2 separate regions of the Homo sapiens genome follow, and region 1 is linked to region 2. The links are contacts of gene promoters, found by promoter capture Hi-C in human tissues and cell types (Jung and others, 2019). All regions are on one chromosome and are shown on one strand. Each heading gives the region's core, a stretch centred on a gene start or on the middle of the fragment in contact. The rest is flanking DNA. Distances are from core to core; before and after follow the strand shown.

Region 1 (3,724 bases), core at 800-3,299, 270 kb before region 2:
GACCTAAAACCATAAAAACCCTAGAAGAAAACCTAGGCAATACCATTCAGGACATAGGCATGGGCAAGGACTTCATGTCTAAAACACCAAAAGCAATGGCAACAAAAGCCAAAATTGACAGATAGGATCTAATTAAACTAAAGAGCTTCTGCCCAGCAAAAGAAACTACCATCAGAGTGAACAGGCAACTTACAGAATGGGAGAAAATTTTTGCTACCTACTCATCTGACAAAGGGCTAATATCCAGAATCTACAATAAACTCCAAAAAATTTACAAGAAAAAAACAAACAACCCCAACAAAAAGTGGGCAAAGTATATGAATAGACACTTCTCAAAAGAAGACATTTATGCAGCCAGAAAACACATGAAAAAATGCTCATCATCACTGGTCATCAGAGAAATGCAAATCAAAACCACAATGAGATACCATCTCACACCAGTTAGAATGGCAATCATTCAAAAGTCAGGAAACAACAGGTGCTGGAGAGGATGTGGAGAAATAGGAACACTTTTACACTGTTGGTGGGACTGTAAACTAGTTCAACCATTGTGGAAGTCAGTGTGGCGATTCCTCAGGGATCTAGAACTAGAAATACCATTTGACCCAGCCATCCCATTACTGGGTATATACCCAAAGGATTATAAATCATGCTGCCATAAAGACACATGCACACGTATGTTTATTGCGGCACTATTCACAATAGCAAAGACTTGGAACCAACCCAAATGTCCAACAATGATAGACTGGATTAAGAAAATGTGGCACATATACACCATGGAATACTATGCAGCCATAAAAAATGATGAGTTCATGTCCTTTGTAGGGACATGGGTGAAGCTGGAAACCATCATTCTCAGCAAACTATCGCAAAGACAAAAAACCAAACACCACATGTTCTCACTCATAGGTGGGAATTGAACAATGAGAACACATGGACACAGGAAGGGGAACATCACACACTGGGGCCTGTTGTGGGGTGGGGGGAGGGGGGAGGGATAGCATTAGGAGATATACCTAATGCCAAACAACGAGTTAATGGGTGCAGCACACCAGCATGGCACATGTATACATATGTAACAAACCTGCACGTTGTGCACATGTATCCTAGAACTTTAAGTATAATAATAATTAAAAAAAAAGGCAAGGAAACAATCTTGCATACCAAATAGCAAAAAAAAAAAAAAAAAAAAAAAAAGTTTCTGCTGTTTCGACGTGTGATAGTTCATGTGCAACGTTCATCAAGTGGAAATCGTCACTCTACCTATTTCATCAATTAGGTCGCAATGAGTTTTATAACTATACACTAGGTGCTTCATGCAAAAGGCAATATTACATTTAAAATATGAACTTATTAGAACTTTTAAAAACATTCAGTAGTAATAACTATAGTATCTGTTTTCCTTTTAAAAATGTTCTTTACAGAAAACCAAACACCGCATGTTCTCACTCCTAAGTGGGAGTTGAACAATGAGAACACATGGACACAGGGAGGGGAACATCACACACTGGGGCCTGTTGGAGGGTAGGGGGTTATGGGAGGGACAGTATTAGGAGCAATACCTAATGTAGGTGACAGGATGATGGGTGCAGCAAACCATCATGGCATGTGTATACCTACGTAACAAACCTGCACATTCTGCACATGTGTCCCAGAACTGAAAGTATAGTTTAAGAAAAGGAAAAAAAAAACAAAAAGCTCTTTATAATGAGTACAATTCTGAACCTTATAACACTATCCTCCTAAAATAACATTATTGGATTTCTTTTTCTACCTCACTCATGTTCCATTTATAATCATAACCCTTCACAAACACACGGTAAAGGCAGTGATTTATTGTACTGTATTTTTAACTACCTATCTACATTTATGCTTTGCTGTTAAATCTGTCATTCCTGACAAACACAGCTAAACAAAAACATTTGTTTATGGTATGAGATTAGGAACAAAAATCAAGAAAAATGATTTAGAACAGGGAATGGTCTGATTTTTCAGACAAAAAAAAACCAATTGAATTGTTACTTCAACAAGGAAAGATAAGACAAAGGACATTTGGTGAATATTTGCAAAAAGGAAAAAAAAATCTGGTCTTGTTGGTCGGCGGCAGTGATCTACAGCTCTGTATAATACGGTTCCAGCTCTATAAATCTGTTCTACTCCACAACACTTTCCCAAGAAACTGATATATTTCTAAAAAAGTTCCATCTACATGTCACCCTGGAAGCTTACTATGTTGGGGATAATTCCGAATGCAGAAGTGTGCAGCACAACCCCTTTTTGTGACCCAAAACTGACTTATTTATCAACCATGAACATGTTTATAAAGTAAATATAGAAATATTCTAGCATTTTAAGGAGAATGCTTGTCTCCTTTAAAGTATTTCTAACCTTCCGAAGATTCTAAATGTTAACATCTCTAAGCATAAGAAGCTTTGTTCCTCCTGAGGTACTGAGGATCATACTTATTGAATTACTGAAGGAACAAACGTGTTGTATAAACCCAAGGATGGAGAGTCTAAATGACTTTAAGGAACTCCAGCAATGTCCCAGGCACTGCAGGCTGTGGGTGGCACATATTTGAATAAGCCCGCATACGCCTAGTATCAGATTGAAGCACGTATAAATAAAAGGTCTTAGAAGGTGAGAGATAACAGTAAGTTAAAATATTACACACACAGGAAGGGAATCCACATCCTCATGATAAAATATTTTAAGATCTCATTTTGTTTCTAACTGGTCTTTAGAAAATTTGAGGAAATCCAAAGTTAAGTAGACAGAATATTCAGGTAAATAACATAGTTTAAATACACACACAGGCATACACAACATAATCATTTTTTTAAAAGGACCATAACTTTTAGCTGTTTTGTTTTGTTTTAATGAGGGATTGAAACTGCATACTATTAACATATGTCCAAAAATTGCAATTTACTACATCTGACATTACACTTTCCTCTATTATAGGGTAGACTTTAGCAAACCAATTTGCAGATTATAAAGTGCTACCAATCACCACTTGTGAATTCATAATCTACTGATGTATGTTTAAGATTTGTACCTCCTTAAATTACCATAAACATCTGCAACCCTCCCATCATAAATGTTCCTCAGAATGTTACAAGACTCAAATTTAAGTGTATGCTAAGTATTCTGAAGGCAATTGCTTCAGTGTAGTGATACATGTAAGAACCTTTTTCTTTTCTTTTTCTTTTTTTGTAAACTCCTCTATAAACAGGCAACAAAACTTCAGTATTTTAAAAGTGAATGGGTTTTTTTTCTTCAATTTTATTTTGGAGACCCTTTTAGAACATGTAGTTAAAATTAAATACAACCATCATGATCATGCCTTTTAAAAACGCACCATTTTTTAAAGAAAATATCACGCAATTTAAAGGTTTTATAAGCAGGGTTAGTATTAGAACTATATTCTATGGGCTAATGATTTCTGTTTAAGAATATTTTGTTTCAGTCTGAATACAGTCATCCCTTGGTACCTGTGGGGCACTGGTTCTAGGACCCTCCTCAGAATCTGCAGATACTCAAGTCCTTTACATAAAATGGTGTCATATGTGTATATAGTCTATGCGCATCCTCCCGTATACTTTAAATTATCTACAGAGTTGTTATAATACTTAATACAATGTGAATGCTATGTAGTTGTTATACTGTATTGTTTTTCATTTGTATTATTTTTATCTTTTTTTGTTTTTCATTTTCTCAACTA
Region 2 (4,265 bases), core at 163-2,662:
GCGGGTTATTCAGAAATAGCTAGAAATGGGCAGTAACTTCCAGCTGTTTCCATGGCAAGGGGTGGGGACTTCCCGTGCTGCCGTGGCATTGGCAAACTGTCACGGCACTGGTGGAAGCGTCTTCTGGTGATCTGAGGCGTGAGGTGCTTTCGCTGCCTCTCCCAGTCTCCTGCGTGCCTCTTACCTGAAAGCCCTTCACACCCTCATCTGCCCACCTACAAACTTCACTGCCCTTTCACCCCAACCCCGTTTCACACGCACTCCCACATCAACCCTGAGCATTCAAGCTTGCGTTTCCCTGTTAGGAACCTCGGTGGTGGCCGGAGCTCTGAGAAACCCCTAGGCAGAAATCCTTGCCTAGTTTGTGGCAGAAATCAGGGAAGGAAAGGCAAAGTTCAGGTCTTTCTCACAATAAATAAATAAAGATAGCTAGATTTGATTGATTGGTGGATGGATGAAACGTGGGAGTTTATGGGCAAATATTTATCAGACACTGGAAGTGTAAGTTGTCACAAAGATTATGGAGTGCACCTGTCTTATGACCCTGTTATTTTATCCCAGTATATGCACTAGAGCATTTTTTGTAACTGTGTAAATTGAAGGCTTATAAATTAGTTTAGTGAGAGAAAAGATAACGGATTGGAAGAGAATTACCATATTCATTAGTTGTGTTTTTAAAATTTTAAAGTAAAATAGAGACATGATTTTTTTCATGCTTTCGAATGCATTTATAAAAAATAGACTTGAGGGCTGGGCGCAGTGGCTCACGCCTGTAATCCCAGCACTTTGGGAGGCCGAGGAGGGCGGATCACGAGGTCAAGAGTTCGAGACCAGCCTGACCAACATGGTGAAACCCCGTCTCTACTAAAAATACAAAAATTAGGTGAGTGTGGTGGCGCGCACCTGTAATCCCAGCTACTCAGGAGGCTGAGGCAGGAGAATCGCTTGAACCCGGGAAGCGGAGGTTGCAGTGAGCCGAGATCGCACCATTGCTCTCCAGCCTGGGTGACAGAGTGAGACTCCGTCTCAAAAAAAAAAAAAAAAAAAAAGTTACTCATTAATAGCATAGACCAATTGGCCTCTATTGAAATTTCTCCATTATTTTCACAATGTGCCAGGCTGTGAAACCAGGATTTAATAAAGAACCAGAATGCCACATCTGTGTCACCTGGGTAGGGACCAGTCCTGATCCATTAAGTCCGGGTCTCTGGGTAACTGGACTCACTGCTGGGCAAAACAGAATGTCCGGCTTGGGTTCCTAACCGGGGACCGCAGAGCCTCATGGGAAATGTAGTGTCACCTTCCAATGATGTTACCATCAAGGACCTTGGGAACCAGCTTTTCTCTCTGCGCATGCGCCGCCCCGCCCACTCCGCCATTTTCCTCCGGAAGTGCGGCACCCAGAGGCGGTCTTGTAGCTGGGCCAGCCTGGGGCTTGGTTCTATGTCCCTGCGGGTCGGTGCGAGGGCGAAGAGGAACCCGTGGGCCCGGGGGATCCCGGGGGGCCGGACCAGTGTTCCCCAGTTGTGGGAGCAGACGCGTGGGCGCATCGCGGGCGGGCAGGGCCTGAAGTGCAGGTGCAGGCCGCGGACCCTGGCGGGGGCTGGGAGGACAGGCGTGGGGTCCCGGCAGTGAAGCGGGTTCTAGAGGCGCAGGAGCGGGTAGGCGAGGCCGGTGGCCCTGGGCCCGGAGTCTGCAGGCCGCGCTCCTGTCCTGCCGCTGAGGGAGCCGGTTACCAACCCGCATGACGCTCAGTTTGCCCATCTGTCCCAGTGCGAACACACAGTTCTCGGGAGACGTTCCCCATTCCCAGAGGAGTAGTGCGAAACGCGTGCGCCTCGAGTCTTAAACTGGGCGTTTGTATTAGTTGGGTTTCCCGGTGTCTCTTTAGCAAGTGAAGTTTCTGGTTCCCTCCTTCACTGTGTGACCTGCCTAGTCCTCCTGGGTTGCGTTTACAGAAGTTTATACGAGACCTAGTTTCCAGGGAAGAACTCACTGATGCCGCGAGGGAGATGGGGTACTGGATGATGGTCTTCAGCCTTAAGGGTACTTCAGTCTTAACCGTGTGTTATAAGGTTTGAAAGGGAGGGTTCCCTATGAATAAGAAGCGCACTTGAAAGAACAGCCCTCTGGTCTAACCTCCCACTGGTGCTTCAGAGGAGGATAAAAGGTCACAGGTGAAGATCCCAGTTTTCCTCGCTCGGGAAATATTAATTCTACTCCCTAGAATGCACAAGATTTGCAAAGACTAGGTGACAGTGGTAGGTTTGGACGAACTTTCAGAAGGTTGAGGTGAATTCGGCTGAGAAGAACAGGCAAGGACCTAGGAAATATTCCTTATTTGAAGGGGCCTGAAAGTGTGGTCTGGGGTACAGGAGTGACCTGTCATACCTGAGAAGATTAAAATACTCTCCAAACACAGTCCCATTCCTTCAACCTTTCCTCGTTGTTTCCAGCGTTTGAGATATATTAAACCTAGTCCATCACCAAATTTAGCTTTAGCATTAGATTGTGAAGTTCTATCGATTGTATTTGATTTGTAATTTAAGACTTTCTCCCCCTACGTAATTTTGTTAAAAACATATTGAATTCTGTTCACTTAGGTGTAACAGTTAATACTTGCTGTTTAAGGAACTAATTAAACCTTACTGGCTTATAAAAAACAACCACCATTTTATTTGTTTGAAGTTCTGTGGATCTGCATTTTGGTGTGGTGGGTTCAGCTGGGTAGTTGATATATTTATGTTGCCTGGATCACAAAAGAGGCCTTGGTCACATGGTGGGTTGACTGAGCCTGGTTGGTTTAAGATAGTTTCCTTCACAATCTGGCGGTTTGTGGTGACTCTTGGCTAGGCCCTGTGTCTCCACCAGGGTAGCTCCAGACCTCCTCACAATATGACTGTGTCCAAAAAGGCAAGAACCAATGGATATTTGCATCACATTTTCCATTGTCCATTCACTGGACAAGTCAGATGGAAAAGCCCAATTTATTGTCAGAGCATAATATGAGGGCTTGGATACAGGGAAAGGTGTTATTGGGAAACATGAGTAGAATGGTGTACTGCAGGAAATACATATTATGTACATTTAAAAAAAAGTAATTGTAGGCCAAAATTGCTGGGTTGCAAGATGCACTTTCCATGATGTTCAGGTATAGAAAAGCAAGATGTACTGTCATGGGAACACTCATATGAAGTTATTTGTGGAATCCACATATTAATAGGAAAATAGTTAATACAGCCCAGTATATTTCTATAACATTTATTTTAGTGAACTTATAATGTTTCTTTGTATTAAATTATTAGATTGTATCTTTAGGTAATATTGTTGCTAAATTAGTAGGTAATACATATTTTTATTCAAAATAAATTGTGCATCTAATGTCTACCAATTAATGTACTTGTAGATGTATCTTATCTTGAGTCTTTGCTGCCCCTAATGAGGCTTGAAGGACTCTTCTCCCATGGGGAAGTTTTTCTTTTTCAGGAGGGAGGAGGGCTTTTCCAGGTAATGTGTCTAGAGTGTTGGGCAGAAGAATCTGGGACCACACCACACCAGTTCTCTCCTTAATTCACGTCATTTGCCTTCTCTCTCAGCTATGTTTCCAGTGTTCTCTGGCTGTTTCCAAGAGCTACAAGAAAAGAATAAATCTCTGGTGAGTTGTTTATTTGTTCTTCACTTTGTTTTACACTGTATTTTCTGAGTTTATGGGTGTCTGTGAATTAAAAAAGAAAAGTGGAAATAAGTAAAACTCAGGTTGAAGGAAATATACATAAATAAGATAAAGCTGACCTGTAGATATAGACAGGTTGTAAGAGCTTAGAGTTGTCTAAGTTGAGTGCAAATTTTCCTCTGATCTTTCTGATGCAGTGACAAAAAAGTCAGTCATGGTTGTTACGTGATTGGAATGGAACCCGCGAAGAGAGCATGCTGTGTTCTTGTGGGACAGGAAAGCTTGTGTGCACCAAGTCTGAACCACCACCTTCGGTGGTGACATAGGTTATGTGCTGGAACATATTTCACACCAGCCTGGCAGTAAATACTTGTAGTGTTGTGCAGTGGAAACGGTCATCTTCTGCTAAAGCACGGCATGTTGTGCAGTGGAAACGGTCGTCATCCGCTAAAGCACGGCGTGTTGTGCAGTGGAAATGGTCATCTGCCGCTAAAGCACGGTGTGTTGTGCAGTGGAAACGGTCATCGTCCGCTAAAGCACGGCATGTTGTGCAGTGGAAATGGTCATCTGCTGCTAAAGCATAGTGTGTTGT

The links. Contacts are between HindIII fragments. The study calls those that stand out against the background at their distance.
Region 1: a contact is called between a fragment that was not itself captured here and the fragment with the promoter of ZNF717 in region 2, in 1 of the 25 tissues and cell types used here (thymus).

What each region holds. Positions count from the first base shown.
Region 1 is chr3:76,056,063-76,059,786 of GRCh38, reverse strand. It overlaps a transcript of ROBO2 not described here. Among named protein-coding and RNA genes, the nearest start is that of ZNF717, 270 kb to the right of the region's middle. The HindIII fragment of the contact is 5,119 bases long and covers 1-3,724 here.
Region 2 is chr3:75,782,696-75,786,960 of GRCh38, reverse strand. ZNF717 (zinc finger protein 717) reads left to right here and starts at 1,412. Exons shown (of 5, transcript NM_001290208.3): 1 at 1,412-1,577; 2 at 3,597-3,655. The coding sequence starts at 3,599. RefSeq lists an enhancer at 1,150-1,299. The HindIII fragment of the contact is 7,615 bases long and covers 1-4,265 here.